Regions from separate parts of the Homo sapiens genome. Here all the other regions are linked to region 1. Evidence: promoter capture Hi-C in human tissues and cell types (Jung and others, 2019). All regions are on one chromosome and are shown on one strand. Each heading gives the region's core, a stretch centred on a gene start or on the middle of the fragment in contact. The rest is flanking DNA. Distances are from core to core; before and after follow the strand shown.

The links. The method cuts DNA at HindIII sites, captures the fragments that hold promoters and counts their contacts. A contact is called where the count stands out against the background at its distance.
Region 2: a contact is called between a fragment that was not itself captured here and the fragment with the promoter of SLC10A2 in region 1, in 2 of the 25 tissues and cell types used here (H1 embryonic stem cells and dorsolateral prefrontal cortex).
Region 3: a fragment that was not itself captured here is called in contact with the fragment with the promoter of SLC10A2 in region 1 in 3 of the 25 tissues and cell types used here (adrenal gland, lymphoblastoid cells and mesenchymal stem cells).

The regions. Positions count from the first base shown.
Region 1 is chr13:103,064,464-103,067,759 of GRCh38, forward strand. SLC10A2 (solute carrier family 10 member 2) reads right to left here and starts at 1,954. Exons shown (of 6, transcript NM_000452.3): 1 at 1,410-1,954. The coding sequence starts at 1,786. The HindIII fragment of the contact is 6,207 bases long and covers 760-3,296 here.
Region 2 is chr13:102,986,783-102,989,861 of GRCh38, forward strand. No RefSeq gene overlaps it. Among named protein-coding and RNA genes, the nearest start is that of SLC10A2, 78 kb to the right of the region's middle. The HindIII fragment of the contact is 3,278 bases long and covers 1-3,040 here.
Region 3 is chr13:102,968,768-102,972,158 of GRCh38, forward strand. No RefSeq gene overlaps it. Among named protein-coding and RNA genes, the nearest start is that of SLC10A2, 96 kb to the right of the region's middle. RefSeq lists an enhancer at 1,937-2,136. The HindIII fragment of the contact is 3,080 bases long and covers 518-3,391 here.

The DNA.
Region 1 (3,296 bases), core at 704-3,203:
GGGTTCCATATGTGGTATTACATTGAGGTACAAAACTCCTCTGCACTAAAAGTTACAAATATTATGAGAAAGCTGTTTATTGGGGGTCAAGGCCCAATGTTCCAAGTAGTTCACTTTTCTCAGTGTAACAGGTGCTGGCATTTAGAATTCTCACTTCTGTGTACCTGTGTCCAGGTCAAACTAAATTGAGGTCTAAAAAGACCTTATTGCTATATCGTGGTTCACAGATTAACTAAACCTGAATAGCACTTGCCATCCTATGTTGTTTTATAGGGCTTTCCTTAAAAAAAAAAAAGCAATTGCAAGGTGGATATCATGTGTTTTCTTATGTGAAAGACTAAACCATATGAAGGTATAGGGTTTGTATGACTTTTCTAAAGCTTCTGGAGAAACCAGCACCAGTTGAAATGAGACAGCAGGTTCCTAATTGATCACTGGGTACTCTATCAATCCAGTGTTTACAATTCTACACTTTGTGCTTCTCTCCTCTGCCAATAGTAGCTGGGGATGAACAGAGCTAATTGCCTACTGTACAGTATTTAATAAGCACACGTTGCATTAGCACCTGGATGGTTTGCAGAAGGAAATGCATACCTTTCAAGGGAAATGAGGAATTGTGAGCTAAGGAAAAAGACATTTGTCTATTCAACTTTTAGCATTAAATTTCTCAATCTAGTCACATTAATGCTTCATCTTATTTCTATTAGTTTTTTTTTCCAGTGCTAGTTCAGACTGGCACGGGATGAAATGGGCAAACATTGCAATTTAGATTACTCTGTAGGAAGTGGAGAAAACGTTTTCTGTTTATTTTGTAGTAAGGTAAGCATAATTTTAAAAAAGCTGCTATAGGCTTTTTCCCCCACTTTTAATGCCAGTAGAGGTGAAGCAAATTTACAAATTCTTCCTTAGGTTTTATACCAGGAAAATGTTTGCCCAAAGAACTGGCTATATTTGATGGAGTTGACCACTGTCTCACTACAGGTTCTAATGTTTGACAAACAGTTTTATTTTATGATTGCACCCAGAGCTCCTCATCATTACAAAGAAAGTGTATTTTGCTTTTTTTTTCCTGCTACCAACAGGATAAACCTCCTCAGCTGCAGCTTGTGGTTTGGAAAAGATTACTTTTTTAAAAAAGCTTTGAATCTTTTCCTAGAGATCAACAGCAATTATGCAACTCCCTGTTAACTGAGTTAGATTTAAAAACACAAACACAAAATATAAATCCCCCAATTCCAATAGCTAAGCAGCTGTGCTAGAAGGCACGGGAATGCATTTATTCTCTCCTGTTTGATTCCTTAGTCATACTTTAGATGCGTGGCAAATCAGTTGGACATTCAGAATGCCATAGGCTTCTGGAAGGATTACTCCAAGGTGATTGCAGTAGTTAGAGGTATAGATAATCTTACCTCAGGTCCATGTCGCCATCGACCCAATAGGCCAAGATATTGGAGGCAGTTCCTCCAGGGCAGCATCCTATAATGAGCACCACTACGGCCTGGAGCGGGAGGATGTCAAAGGCCACCGACAGGATGAATCCTGTGAGGGGCATGATTCCAAACTGACAGAGGAAGCCAACACAAATGCCCCACGGCCGCTTTATGTGCCCTAGAAATTTCTTGATTTCCACGTTGCATCCCATGGAGAACATCACCAAGGCCAACAGGATGGTCAGCACCGTACTTAGGACCACACTTAGGATGTTATTGAAATTGCTCTCAGGTACCACACAGGATGCACCAGAGCAAACTGTTGCATTGTCCACACAGCTGTTCGGATCATTCATTGCTGGGTCTGCTGCTGGAAAGGCCAAGTCCACAGAAGCGCTGGTCCCTGGGCCCTGGCTCTGCTGCTGGTTGAGTTAAGCAACGTTTACTTCTACCCCATCAAACTTTTAAACCCCTCCTAAAAATATGTCACTTGGTGTCTCTTTTGAAAGCCACCTTAGGGAAGTAATAAAAAACAATAAAGCTAGGATGTCAGTTTCAAGAGGTAGCATTACAACACAGAGCACGTTGTGAATCACAAAAGTCCAGCAAAATTATTGGTCAAGACAGAGAGTTACGATTAATCATTTATTGGCATGATAATGAACCATGCCATATAAAAAGAGCCACGTTAATGTTTAATGTCCTCGAGGGTTTGTTGGATAATTTCAGTTAAGTGACTTTTAAAATCAACTCTGAATAGTACAGAATCTTATAGGGATTGAGCCATAGGAACCATGCCATATAAAAAGAGCTGTGTTAATGTTTCATGCCATGAAGGTTTGTTGGATAATTTCAGTTAAGTGACACTTAAAATCAACTCTGAATAGTACAGAATCTTATAGGGACTGAGCCATAGGAACACATATTGTTCTCCCATTTCCCTTTCAATAGAAGGGTTTAGGGCCCTGAATAGTTGAGTGCCCTGTGCCTAATTATGTTGCAAATCAGGTGTCAGACTCTGAACTGGGACCCAGATCTCCATCCAATTTCCACTCCCAGTAGTTTTGCTACTGTATCAGTGTTTCCTGGAATTGCTTTGTAGTGTCCATAAAGTATATGGAAATTTAAGAAACTTCTAGGGTCTTGGTGCAAATCTGAGAGAGTAACATTTGGGAAGATAGAATGTTTTCTGTGTTTCCTGGTGGAAAGGAGTCTGACTTGCACAGCCACCCTCAACTACTTACACATGCAATTATGTGTGCGTTGTCATAGTAACAGAGTACTTTATAGATGGAGACAATACAATTATTTAGAGGGATGAACCTCAGAGAATTAGGTCAAAGTGACAGGATCTCTTTGTGCTTGGAGTCATAAATTGAAATTCGATTTTTTTTTTTTTGGCAGGGGGATTCCAAGAGAGATTTTTGTAAATGTCAAATAGTCGACCTCATGCTGGGCAGAACGCTGTATTTCAGTATACAGGGAAGATAAAGAAAGAGGTAGAGAAGAGATTGTCCTGTTTTCAGGAGTTTATAACCCAGTTATTGAGTTAGGACACAGAGTAATAATAAAATTGAATATTCCGATCATGATTCACAATTTGTAGGACAAATTCTAATTTATTATTCAACTTAATCATCTTAAATTAAGTAGGATTAGCACTCCCATTTTACAGATGACGACTTAAGGGTTGAGGAAATTGAGTGCTTTAGATAAGGTTAAAGGGAAATGAGAGAACAACGTGTTTTCCTATGGCTGGTATCTGGAAATACTGGAACCGAGCGTTCTGATTATGTGAAGAAAGTGGTCGGTTTGGCTTGCTGGGGATTGGAGTAATATCTTAGAACAGAGCTTCTCAAAACTCAG
Region 2 (3,079 bases), core at 152-2,651, 78 kb before region 1:
TGCCTTTGGCTAAGTGTGTTAGTCTGCTCTCACACTGCTGTAAAGAACTGCCTGAGACTGAGTAATTTATAAAGGAAAGAGGTTTAATTGACTGACAGTTGTGCAGGGCGGGGGAGGCCTCAGGAAACTTACAGTCATGGCAGAAGAGGAAGCAAACACATCCTTCTTCACTTGGCAGGAAGGAAAAGAATGAAAGATGAATGAAGGGGGAAGTCCCTTATAAAGCCATCAAATCTTCTGAGAGCTTACTATCATGAGTATAGCATGAGGGAAACTGCCTCCATGATTCATTTATCTCCCACCAGTTGCCTCCTACCACATGTGGGGATTATGGGAACTATAATTCAAGATGAGATTTGAGTGGGCACACAGCCAAACCATATCATACCGTCCCTGGCCCCTCCCAAATCTCATGCCCTCACATTTCAAAACACAATCATGCCTTTCCAACGGTCCCCCAAAGTCTTAGCTTATTCTAGCATTAACCCAAAGTCCAAGTCCAAAATCTCAGCTGAGACAAGACAGGTCCCTTCTGCCTATGAGCCTGTAAAATCAAAAGGAAGTTAGTTACTTCCTAGATACAATGGTGGTACAGGCATTGGGTAAATACACCCTTTCCAGATGGGAGAAATTGGCCAAAACAAAGGGGCTACAGGTCTGATGCAAATCCAAAATCCAATAGGGCAGTCATTAAACCTTAAAGTTCCAAAATGATCTCCTTTGACTCCATGACTCACATCCAGGTCACGCTGATGCAAGAGGGGGGCTCCCGTGACCTTGGAAAGCTCTGCCCCTGTGGCTTTGCAGGGTACAGCCTCCCTCCTGGCTGCTTTCATTGGCTAGTGTTGAGTGTCTTTGGCTTTTCCAGGTGCATGGTGCAAGCTCTTGGAGGATCTTCCATACTGGAGTCTGGAGGACAGTGGCCCTCTTCTCACAACTCCTCTAGGCAGTGCCCCAGTGGGGACTCTGTTAGGGGACTCCAATCCTACATTTCTTTTCCCCACTGCCCTAGCAGAGGTTCTCTATGAGGGCTCTGCCCCTGCAGCAGACTTCTGCCTGGACATCCAGGCATTTCTGTGTATCCGCTGAAATCTAGGCAGAGGTTCCCAAATCTCAATTCTTGACTTCTGCACACATGCAGATAAAACACCATGTGGAAGTTGCCAAGGCTTGGGGTTTGCGCCCTCTGAAGCAATAACCTGAGCTACAGCTGGGGCCGAAGCAGCTGGGATTCAGGGCACCATGTCCCAAGGCTGCACATATTCCCAAAGCTGCACAGAGCAGGGGGGCTCTGGGTCTGACTCAGGAAACCATTTTTCCCTCCTAGGCCTCCAGGCCTGTGACGGGAGGGGCTGCTGTGAAGGTCTCTGACATACCCTGGAGACATTTTCCCCATTGTCTTGGTGATTAACATTTGGCTCATCATTACTTCTGCAAATTTATGCAGCCAGCTTGAATTTCTCCCCAGAAAATGGGTTTTTCTTCTCTACTGCATCAGCTGCAAATTTTCTAAACTTGTTTGCTCTGTCACCTCTTGAATGTTTTGCTGCTTAGAAATTTATTCCACCAGATATTCGAAATCACCTCTTTCAAGTTCAAAGTTCCACAGATCTCTAGGACAGGGGCAAAAAGCCACCAGTCTCTTTGTTAAAGCATAGCAAGCGTGGCCTTTACTCCAGTTCCCAACAAGTTTCTCATCTCCACCTGAGACCACTTCAGCCTGGACTTCATTGTCCATATTACTATCAGCATTTTGGTCAAAGCCTTTCAACGAGTCTCTAGAAAGTTTCTAGCTTTCTGACATCTTCCTGTCTTCTGAACTCTCCAAGTCTCAAGGAAGCTTCCAACTTTTCCACATTTTCTTGTCTTCTTCTGAGCCCTCCAAACTGTTCCAACCTCTGCCTGTTACCCAGTTCCAAAGTTGCTTCCACATTTTCAGGTATCCTTATAGCAGCACCCCACTCTCTGCAGTATCAACTTACTATATTAGTCCATTTTCATGCTGCTATGAAGAACTGCCCAAGGCTGGGTAATTTATAAAGGAAGGAGGTTTAATTGACTCACAGTTCCACAAAGTTGGTAAGGCCTCAGGAAACTCACAATCATGGCAGTAGGAAAAGCAAACATGTTCTTCACATGATGGCAGGAAGGAAAAAAGTGAGAGATGAGCAAAGGGTAGCCCCTTATAAAATCACTAGATCTTGTGAAAACTTACTATCATGAGAATAGCACCCTCGCGATTCAATTACCTCCCACCAGTTCCCTCCCACCACATGGGGGGATTATGGGAACTACAATTCAAGTGAGATTTGGGTGGGGACACAGCCAAACCATACTACTAAGAGTCTTACAAACCTTTGGAGATGAAAGTTAACTTATAGAAACCTGATAAAGATGGAGAAAAAATTCCTTTCAAGAGAAATACAAATTGTGTTTGGTGTAATTAATTAATTAATTATTGTCCCTGTGACTATTGGCAGTTTTGCAATTTTTTTTCCTTTTTTTTCAGAGATAGGGTCTCACTCTGTCACCTAGGATGGGACTCAGTGGTGATCATAGCTCACTGAAGCTTCAAACTCTTGGGCTTAAGTGATCCTCCTGCCTTAGCCTCTTGAGTAGCTGGGACTACAGGCACCTAACAACATGCCTGGCTAATTTTATTTTCATTTTCATTGTAAAGATTGGGTCTTGTGATGTTGCCCGGGCTGGTCTTGAACTCCTGGCCTCAAGCAATCCCCCCCACCTTGGTCTCTCAAAGGGCTGGGATTACAGGTATGAGAGTCACTCACACCCAGCTAAGTCTTGCACTTTTTATAAATTCATTTCAGCATTACTTATTTGACTAAATATATATCTGGTTTCTTATATTTCAGTGACATGAGTTCTTTATTCTGGATAAAAGTTCTTTGCCGTATGTATGATTTTCAGGATATCCTAGTCTGTGGCTTGTCATTTCACTTTCTTAGTGATGTCATTTTAAGTGCAAATAATTTTAATTTTGATGAAGTCTATTTTACTATTTTTTGTGTCATATCTAAGAACTCTTTGCCTAACTGAAAGTCATAAAGACTTTATTCTT
Region 3 (3,391 bases), core at 808-3,307, 96 kb before region 1:
TCTTTAAGTGAATGCTGGCTGGCATTTAGGGCAATCTGGAGGGTTAATAAGAGCCCCCCATGGCAATTTAATCCTGCATTAGGTAAAGACGCTGTACAGACTGTGGAACACTTGACTTATGCAAATATGACCTTACACAGATTGTTCTATGAAGCCCATAATAACATTTTAGATATGGAAATTTCCACTGTGGGCGGAAACACAAAGTTCTGCGGTGTGTGGCTGATTGCCGGGAAGCCAGAGTGCTGGGCAGGCAGGGCCATACAAGGGGAGGGCCTTCGGACTTTGCTTTCACGTTGCTCTGTTTTCCTATGGATTTTTGCTAGGCTACGTGTGCTATTTCAGTATTGTTTGTGTTGTTACTCCATTTATTGCATTCTAACTGTGACTGAATAAACCAGGTAATAGCAAGGGGGTACATTAGAAGAAAAAAAATGAAAGTTTAAAGGTTCTTAAAAATGCCAAAGCCTTTATTCCATTGTATGTGGATTTTATTTGGCTACTTCAACATTGAAAAGTATTTTGAACAAAAGCGCAAGCACAAAAGAGCACATAATGTTTTCTGCACATGGTGCAATGCTTAAGAGTCTAGGTTTTGGAGCTAGACAGATGGATTCTGAGTTTTGTCTCCTCTTTGCTATGTGACCTTGTCAGATTACTTACTGTCTTCCAGCTCAGTTTATCTTCTGTAAAGTGGGTGTGATGATGATACTGGAGTCTCTTAAGATTTTACTAAAGATTAAATGAGATAATACATGTAAAGTGTCTAGCTTTTGGCCTGGTACTTACAAAATCATACAACTCACAATTAAATTTCATTTTTGCATTGTTGGTAATGTTTACATTTCATAAATAGCACCTGCTGTGATAGCACTATGGATTTTTTTGAGTACTTACAAAAGCAGGATCTAAATGAAAAGTTAGCGATAATGCAGATAAAGGATGAAATTTAAAAATGTATACTATGTATTCAAATGATGATTCAAACAAGGAAGATAGAGAGCGAAAATATAATGCTTATAATGCAATGCTGTGGGAAGCCATGGGTGGTTCAATAGATTTAAAATTTGTGCCAATGTTCAAAATGTAAAAGTGAGAGGTTGAGAAGGCTAGTGCAGTCATAAAAGCCATAAAAATTATCCTAAAATGTTATGAATAATTATAAGGAGAACCTGGTATGGCACATAGCAACTTTTTGTTGTGAATTAAATTGGGCTCTTTTAGGGAATGATGTCAAAAAGGGGCAGACAATAAACAGTATTAAAGACCACATAAGCTAGTCATGCATTACTTTTCCCAAAGCGTTCAGTGTTAGTTAAAGCTAATACTGGCACTGGTTTATCATTTAGAACATCCATGTGTACTCGAAGGCCTTGGCAAGCTTGCAAATGTGTATATGTTTGAGCCAAACGTGCTTTGAAAGACACTGGGAGCAGCATGGGTGAAAAAAAGTGAGTAGATCTGGGCCTCTGTGAGGAAACCGAGGACTAGACCATGCTTTTATCTTTTGAGATCTTTGGCAATAGAATAACCATCAGTCCTAATTGCTTAGTGTTGCCTGACGCTCTCTTTCCATTATGTGAATTTATATTTTTATCTTCTTGACTTTCAGTTGCTGATAGGTTCTCCGTGATTGACTTATTACATTCCTGTTTGGCCTACATTTACTTGGAGTACACCTGTATCATTTTGAGAGAGACCTTCTTAGTCTTGCTAAATTGAAAGCTTCATTTATTTACTTTTTTATTTTTGTCTAGAGTTGGACTGGCAAGGCCTCTGAAGTTGTGAGTTGACTTCGCCTAGGCTGCTTGTTCTTCAGTCTCAGAACATCCTTAGCCACAGGTCATCTTTAAGAGCAATTTACTTATTTCATCTTGGTGAGAAAGAGCACTTAACATGAGATGGACCCACTTGACACATAGGTGAAATATTGCGTAGCAGATCTCTAGAGCTTATACTTGCTGAGCAGCAGGTGTTCACCTTTGTAACTGTGGGAACTTTACACTTGTGGAACAGTAACTCTCTGTTTCCCTTTCTTGTAGTTTCTGGCAACTGCCATTTTACTTTCTGTTTCTATGAGTTTGACTATTTCAGATCCCCCACATAAGTGGAATCACTCAATATTCATCCTTCTATTGCCACAGAAAAACTTGCATCAACTGATGCTGACTTGGATAACCTGGGATTTTTTTTTTTTTTTTTTTTTTTTTTTTTTTGGTACTGAGTGCAATGGCTGGACTCAGTACCAAATGGCTGGAGTGCAATGGCGCAATCTCGGGTCATTGCAACTTCCGCCTCCCAGCTTCAAGTGATTCTGCTACCTCAGCCTCCCGAGTAGCTGGGATTACAGGCGCCCACCACCCCCAGCTAGTTTTTGTATTTTTAGTAGAGAAAGGGTTTCATCATGTTGGCCAGGCTGGTCTCGATCTCCTGACCTCAGGTGATCCACCCGCCTCGGCCTCCCAAAGTGCTAGGATTACAGGCATGAGCCACTGCGCCTGGCCGGATCACCTGGGATTTTAATCTTTCAGCCTAGCACAGTGCCTGGATTGCAGGAGGCATTCAACATATACTCTTTGAGAGAGGTCTTATTTAGAGTCACTGAATTAAAAGATTTATTTTGCCTGGGTGTGGTGGCTCACATCTGTAATCCCAGCACTTTGGGAGGCTGAGGCAGGCGGATCACCCAAGGTCAGGAGTTTGAGACCAGCCTGGCCAACATGGTGAAATCGTCTCCACTAAAAACACAAAAATTAGCTGGGCATGGTGGTGGGCGCCTGTAATCCCAGCTTCTCAGGAGGCTGAAGCAGGAGAATCGCTTGAACCCTGGAGTGGGAGGTTGCAGTGAGTGAAGATTACGCCACTACCCTCCAGCCTGGGAGACAGAGCGAGACTCCATCTCAAAATAAATAAATAAATAAAAGCTTTATTTATTTACTTTTTGCCAAATAATAAATTTTTGTATGCTTTGGATGCATGGAAGAAAATGATTGTGGCCAAATATACATGTTTACCATAAAATCAATTTATTGCTAAGTACTAAAGAGTAAAAAAATTACAGATGCGACAGTAATAACAGCAACATTTATCCATTGAGCCTTTCTTGCCTGCCAGCCCTGGTGCTAAGCTTCACGTTCATTTAATCCTCACAACAATCCTGGAAGGTATGTATTAGAATCTCCATTTGTAGATGAGTAGCAGTATTTTAAAGTTTGGAGAATAGCCCGGAAGGTCACAGTATTGTTGGAACTGAGCTCATGCATTGGAGATTATGGAATGATTTGATCAGTGTTACTCTGCTTCCTTCGTTGTCTCCAAGCTCTGATGGAAAAAGTTGCAGACCATCTTAGTCACTACCTGGGCAAGCTTTTCTTTTTTTTCTTTTTGTTGT